Regions from separate parts of the Homo sapiens genome. Here region 1 is linked to region 2. Evidence: promoter capture Hi-C in 16 types of primary human blood cells and fetal thymus (Javierre and others, 2016). All regions are on one chromosome and are shown on one strand. The core of a region is centred on a gene start or on the middle of the fragment in contact, and the rest is flanking DNA. Distances in the headings are between cores, read along the strand shown. Region 1 overlaps LOC105378198 (a long non-coding RNA gene). Region 2 holds the start of PCDHB16 (protocadherin beta 16).

Region 1 (3,621 bases), core at 523-3,022, 450 kb before region 2:
AGTGCTGGAATTACAGGTATGAGCCACTGCACCAAACCAGAAAACTGAGTTTTAAAAAGATTAAGATTTTTATGTCTATGTAGCTTTCTCCTTAGATTCTGGGACTCCCACCCTTGCTACTGTACATAACCACTGAATGCCCAAAGAAAAAATATCAAACACTGACAACAGCTCCTCTTTGTTAGATATCATGCCTCTGCAGGCTTCTAGAAGGCTTGCAACAAAACCAGTTCGTGGTTCACTCACATAATAGATATCTTGTTCATAAATGAACGTATAAATTGGCATACCCTTGGAGGTATAACTTGTGCCCCTTGAGGACACACTTTCCTATATAGAATTGAGTCAGATCCCCCAGTTCAAGAAGAGGCACACAGATGCATAAACAGCTGGCAAGTTGAAGGACTTTGCCTTCTAGGTCATTACGTTGCCCTCTTTTCCATCCATCTCAATCATAAAGAAAATCTTGCTTTCCGGTAAGCTAAAAGAGAGCTACCAAGTGGATATCAGGATATGTGGTAGCATAGTTTTTGGGGTGTAATTTTTCTCAGCTACGGAGTATACACTAACAGAGATACGATAAAAAAAAATGCCGGCCACCATAGGACAAATTGCTGAAAATGCTGCAATAAGTATTATGACACAGTAGAAGTCCTTAAATTCTCTCGCTCAAGTGGTTTTAGACAATCAAATTGCACCAGGTTTTCTCATTGCTAAACAAGGGGGAATTTGCATGATAGCCCACACCACTTGTTGCACTTATATCAACATTATAGGAGATTTAACAACCCATGTAGGTAAGATCACCCAACAGGCTGCCTGGTTACAGGAGGTACAAACCACAGATCCCCTTAATAACGTTTTTAGCTGACTCATTGCAGTATTAGAAATTACTTCCAATCCATCTTACAAACCCTTGTCATTATCATATCACTATCTTGTTCCTATTTTTGATAGTCAAAGTACTTATAAGATCTATAACCAACTACTTCAAGTCTGTCACTAAAACCAAAGTTATGGTAGCACAATGCATAGAAATGACAGACAACATAAACATAAACTTACCTTCTCAACTTTTCTGTTGTTACTGTTTTTCTAGTCTCAAAGGTTCAAAGGGTCTTAATAGCTGTCTGCCTCCTTCTTGCCTGGCCTAAAATATTCAACTGGTTGTAAGTCTCCTAGCCACATGAGTCCCACTGACAGACTAGATAGACCTGGGGCAGGTATCCACACCATCCTGGGAACGACATGGGACATGTTAGAAAATTTAGCCATCAATGCTGCCTATGGCAGATTTCAGCCTAAAGCTGGAAAGTGTGAAATAAAACTAAAGTCCCTAAGCCCCTAGGTGAAACAGAATGGACTTCTTGTTGCAAAAGAGACCCCAGAAACTTTGAAAACTGCATTCTATGGCTTTGGCAAGGCAAGAGGTCAGTCACACCTCAACACTCCCCTACCTTGTTAACTGCCTCAAAACTTTCCTTCCTACAATTAAACAGAAACGAGTTCCTAAAAAACTGTCTGGAAGATTTCTCCCTCAACCTCAAGAGACCTCTTGATGTCATGGCTGACCTCCCCTCTTTTATCGTGGTTTCACCATGACTACTGACCAGCCTTATTAAACATTCCATTGTTATACTGACCACCGACCACAGACTGATTGCACCTAGTCCACAGAGGCTGTGCACAAGATGCCTTTGTGTTCTGTTTCACCTTGTTATATATAAACAGCCACGTGCCACTTCACTTTACTATTAAATCCCCACCCCAAAATGAACATGGAACATATGTAACATATATGTTTATTCTCTTTGCATGCATTAGGGTTTTCTCAAATATTCATAGATTCTCCTATAAGCTACTGAATATGTACATATAGCTCATCTTGTTGGGCATAAGTCCCAGCTTCTCCCTTTTGTCTCTGAAGCAGATGCTTTTCATTTTGGCTGGATGTTTCATTTCCCAACCTGCAGATTGTAACCATTTATAGGAAATAAAACTCTCTTTTTTCTTCTTCCTCAAATCTCATGATCTTTTGTTAATACTTCCCTTCCCAGCAGGGGGGATTATATGAGAAGACTGGACTTAGACCTCTACCCAGTGGTAATGTGGCCATCCTCACTGTGGTGTCAGGGGAGCCAGAACTTCCATGCTTACCCAGCAGTAACAATGAGCTCCCTTCTTCAGGTGGCAATGGAGGCTCTGTGGGGAACCTGGACTTCTGCCTGCACCTGGCAGTAATTAGGTGACATCTCCTTCTTTCTCTGTTCCCCCTTCTGCCTAAATGGTATCAGAGAAATCCCACTAAAACAGAAGGTTTAAATAGGATCCAGAGTAGCGGAATATAATATGAACATATCCAGGTTTTAATGAAAAGTTACTTATCATACCAGAAGATCTCAAACAGAATGAAAAAATGACAATCAACAGATGCCAACATTGTGATGACAGAGATATTAGAATTATCTGACAGAAATTTTAAATTAGCCATTGTAAAAATGCTTCAATAAGCAATTATAAACATTCTTGGAATAAATGAAAAATAGAATGCATAAGCAAAGAAATAGATGATAAAAGAAGAACTAAATGGAAATTTTAGAACTGAAAAATATAATAACTGAAATAAAAACCTCAGTGGATGGGGTGGGTGGGTTCAGCAGCATAATGGAGGAGGCAGAAAAAATAACAAGTGAACTAGAAGATAGAATAATAAAAATTATCCAACCTAAACAACAGAGAGAAATTAGACGGAAAAAAATGAATAGACTTTGATAAGTTGTGGACAGAGCAACCGCTAACATGTTATACAAAGAGATGCACTAAAAAACATAGTATTAACTCAAAATAGAATTTTAGAAAATATTAAAGTAAGATGAAGGCACGAAGAATAAAACAGAGAAGTGAAAATCCAAATGAACAGGAGGCCAGGTGCAGTGGCTCACACCTATAATCCCAGCATTTTGGGAGGCCGAGGTAGGAGGATCACTTGAGGCCAGAAGTTTGAGACCATCTTGGGTGACATAGTGAGACCTCGTCTCTACAAAAAAATAAAAATAAAAAAGCCCCAAAATGAACAATTAGTAAAATACAACATAGATTTCCTTTAGTAACAATTCTCCTCATATCCTTCCTTATTCTTCTTTTTATTCTTCTCTATGATTACCTATTAATGATGAAATACTAGATGTTTTACTTTCTATTTCTTCATAGGATTCCTCTGAATATATTTCTTTCTTTCTCTCTCTCTCTCTTTTTTTTTTTTTTTGAGACAGAGTCTCACTCTGCTGCCCAGGCTGGAGTACAGTGGTGCGATCTCAGCTCACTGCAACCTCTGTCTCCCAGGTTCAAGTGATTCTCATGCCTCAGTTTCGTGGGATTACAGGTGCACACCACCACTCCCGGCTAATTTTTGTATCAGTAGAGACAAAGTTTCACCATGTTGCCCAGGCTGGTGAACATGTTTCTTAATCGTATTCATCCTTTTTAGAATGACAGGGTGGCTTCTCAGAGGTACCATTGGGATCACCTCCAAGTTCTGCAGAATAATTAACTTTTTTTTTTCTTTTTTGAGACAAAGTCTTACTCTGTTGCCCAGGCTGGAGTGCAGTGGTGTGATCTTGG
Region 2 (3,895 bases), core at 723-3,222:
TTGGTTTCAGCCTTCAGTTAAAGTAATTGATTTCATATTATATATTTTAATTTTTATGATCAATTCAAAGGAATGGTTTTCTGTCAACTTAGCATAAATTTTAAATTACACTACATTTGCCCATAGTATTTGTCTTGTTTTCACTGTTTTAAAAAATGATATCTCATCTTCTCTTCATTAGTATATCCAGTGGACTCTAATCATAATTCTTTAACAGTGCAATTTTTGTTAAAATGTACATAGTAAAATGCACAGATCTGAAGTGAAGAAATTAATGTAACTGATCTTTTTAAGCCTTTATTTTTTGATTTCTAATCTAGGTAAAATTTAGTTAAAAGTGGTGTAGAGAATGTTTTACATTTATTGCCTTTTAAATGTTTCCCCAAGTCCTAAGGGAGTTGACATATTATCCCCTTTTTTAAATATGAGAAAACTGAGGCTTAGAAAGGTAACTTGGCTGTGAGCTGTGGCTCACACCTGTAATCATAACACTTTGAGAGGCTGAGGCAAGCTGAACCCTTTGAGCTCAGTAGTTCGAGACCAGCCTGGGCAATGGGGCAAAACACTGACACTAACAAAAATACAAAAATTAGCCAGGTGTGATTGCGAACCTGTAGTCCCAGCTACTCAGGAGGCTGAGGTAAGAGGATCCCCTGAGCCCAGGAGACAGAGACTACAGTGAGCCAAGATTGTGCCATTGCACTCCAGGCTGGGTGACAGAGTGAGACCTCATTCCCCCCCACAAAAAACGATTAACTTTCTTATAATTCTGAAATAATAAAGGTAAAAATTTAAAATATAATCTAAGTCTAGCCAATATGCTATATGGTCAGGCATTAACTGATAGCATTGTTTTTCTAACTAAGGAAGTGAAATTTATGTTATTCCTACTCCTACTCCATGAACTAAACTCTCATGTGAAAATATAAGTTTTAGTTTATAGTTTGTTTATACTACTCTGCACAAATATACCCATGTTCTTATCAAAGCTCTAAGTATGCTGGGACAGATACTACAAATGAACTTTATGATGAGCGAATTAACCTGATTTATAGTCCTGTACTTTCTCTACGTGCCATATCCATTATTAAAGAAATGAGTCTAAGTAGGAAGTAGAGTTAACCTATAGTTTCATTTCTTGAATTTCTTATTCTCTTTCTTCAGTCTTTTTCAGTTAACCTACACACACACACACACACACACACACACACACACACACACACATATGTTTATAAGTGGGATGGGAGAACGGGTACGGTGATAATTAAAAGAGGTAAGGTTTCTCTTGAGATGAAAATGTTCTAAAATTGTGATGGCGGATGCACACCTCTGAATATATTAAAAGCCATTGAAATGAAAAAAGGGTGGGGGGAATCCAAAAGTGTAGCAGACCCAACCTTGAGATTTGCTTGTTTGGGAATGAATTTTCCAATAACTTGAAAGTTGTAAAAACTCACACTTCTCAGGGTTAGGTGTCAGAAAGAAAAGGAAGTAATTTATTCTTTAATAAAGCAATTGTTAAATACTCTTTAGAACTACCACTGATTGCAATTTTGCAGTGTCTACTCATAGTGTCTATATAGGTACCATGAAAAAGATGTACTTGTGAAACTGTTCTCATGTTACTTCAGAAAAATTTTGCTTCTAAGTGTGTATTCTATGTCTGGTTAAATGTTCATTGAATTTTATTTAATCATTAATCTCAACAGCATTAAACAGTCAATAACATAAATGACAGTCTTCTCTTTGTACTCCTCCCTGTACAACATCACAGAGCTCCATCTGTATACACGAAAGTCACATGAAAATAGAACTCAGTGTTTTGTATTACATAGTCTATTCAGTACATTTAGAAGTATTTTGCCTCCAATATTCAACCACAGTAAAAGACTCAGTGAGAACGCGTGGTGGCGCTGCAGGTTAAGATGACGGAAAATACAACTGCCTACGCAGCTCCAGGATCCAGCAAACCGTTTCCCAAAGCCTGGAAGCAGAAGAATAGCTGAGCCAGAGCGAACGTGAGTGTGAAACCTCTTTAAGACACCGTTGGGCTGCTTGGTTCTGACATTCTGGACTGCAAAACAGTTCTACTAGGATCCTGGGGATACATGAAGCTTCTGTGAACCAACTTTTCAAGAAAAAGCAATGGAGATTGGATGGATGCACAATCGGAGACAAAGGCAAGTCCTTGTTTTCTTTGTTTTGCTGAGCTTGTCTGGGGCGGGCGCCGAGTTGGGGTCCTATTCCGTAGTGGAAGAAACGGAGAGAGGCTCTTTTGTGGCAAATCTAGGAAAAGACCTGGGGTTGGGGTTGACAGAGATGTCCACCCGCAAGGCCAGGATCATTTCCCAGGGGAACAAACAGCATTTGCAGCTCAAGGCTCAAACTGGGGATTTGCTCATAAATGAGAAGCTAGATCGAGAGGAGCTATGCGGTCCCACTGAGCCTTGCATACTACATTTCCAAGTGTTAATGGAAAACCCTTTAGAAATATTTCAGGCTGAACTGAGGGTGATAGATATAAATGACCATTCTCCCATGTTCACTGAAAAGGAAATGATTCTAAAAATACCGGAAAACAGTCCTCTAGGAACTGAGTTCCCTCTGAATCATGCTTTGGACTTGGACGTAGGAAGCAATAATGTTCAAAACTATAAAATCAGCCCAAGCTCTCATTTCCGGGTTCTAATCCATGAATTCAGAGATGGCAGGAAATACCCTGAGCTAGTGTTGGATAAAGAGCTGGATCGGGAGGAGGAGCCTCAACTAAGATTAACCCTGACAGCGCTGGATGGTGGCTCTCCACCGCGATCTGGAACTGCTCAGGTCCGTATTGAAGTGGTGGACATCAATGATAACGCTCCTGAGTTTGAGCAGCCCATCTACAAAGTGCAGATTCCAGAGAACAGTCCTCTTGGCTCCCTGGTTGCCACCGTCTCCGCCAGGGATTTAGACGGCGGAGCCAATGGAAAAATATCATACACACTCTTTCAGCCTTCGGAGGATATTAGTAAAACTTTGGAGGTAAATCCTATGACAGGGGAAGTTCGACTGAGAAAGCAAGTAGATTTCGAAATGGTTACGTCTTATGAAGTGCGCATCAAAGCCACAGATGGGGGAGGTCTTTCAGGAAAGTGCACTCTTCTCCTGCAGGTGGTGGACGTGAATGACAATCCCCCACAGGTGACCATGTCTGCACTCACCAGCCCCATCCCAGAGAACTCGCCTGAGATAGTAGTTGCTGTTTTCAGCGTTTCAGATCCTGACTCCGGAAACAATGGGAAGACGATTTCCTCCATCCAGGAAGACCTTCCCTTTCTTCTAAAACCTTCAGTCAAGAACTTTTACACCTTGGTAACGGAGAGAGCACTCGACAGAGAAGCAAGAGCTGAATATAATATCACCCTCACCGTCACAGATATGGGGACTCCAAGGCTGAAAACGGAGCACAACATAACAGTGCAGATATCAGATGTCAATGATAACGCCCCCACTTTCACCCAAACCTCCTACACCCTGTTCGTCCGCGAGAACAACAGCCCCGCCCTGCACATCGGCAGCGTCAGCGCCACAGACAGAGACTCGGGCACCAACGCCCAGGTCACCTACTCGCTGCTGCCGCCCCAAGACCCGCACCTGCCCCTCGCCTCCCTGGTCTCCATCAACGCGGACAACGGCCACCTGTTCGCCCTCAGGTCGCTGGACTACGAGGCCCTGCAGGCTTTCGAGTTCCGCGTGGGCGCCACAGACCGCGGCTCCCCCGCGCTGAGCAGAGAGGCGCTGGTGCGCGTGCTGGTGCTGGACGCCAACGACAACTCGCCCTTCGTGCTGTACCCGCTGCAGAACGGCTCCGCGCCCTGCACTGAGCTGGTGCCCCGGGCGGCCGAGCCGGGCT

The links. Contacts are between HindIII fragments. The CHiCAGO score rates a contact against its expected background, and 5 or more counts as called.
Region 1: a fragment that was not itself captured here is called in contact with the fragment with the promoter of PCDHB16 in region 2 in 1 of 17 cell types (M1 macrophages); the score reaches 5.2 in M1 macrophages.

Annotation. Positions count from the first base shown.
Region 1 is chr5:140,735,181-140,738,801 of GRCh38, forward strand. All of the region lies in intron 3 of LOC105378198 (a long non-coding RNA gene), which reads left to right. Among named protein-coding and RNA genes, the nearest start is that of ZMAT2, 37 kb to the left of the region's middle. The HindIII fragment of the contact is 5,793 bases long and covers 1-3,621 here.
Region 2 is chr5:141,180,415-141,184,309 of GRCh38, forward strand. PCDHB16 (protocadherin beta 16) reads left to right here and starts at 1,973. Exons shown (of 1, transcript NM_020957.4): 1 at 1,973-3,895. The coding sequence starts at 2,146. It overlaps PCDHB8 (protocadherin beta 8), which reads left to right. Exons shown (of 1, transcript NM_019120.5): 1 at 1-125. The coding sequence ends at 26. It also overlaps PCDHB@. The HindIII fragment of the contact is 3,641 bases long and covers 1-2,112 here.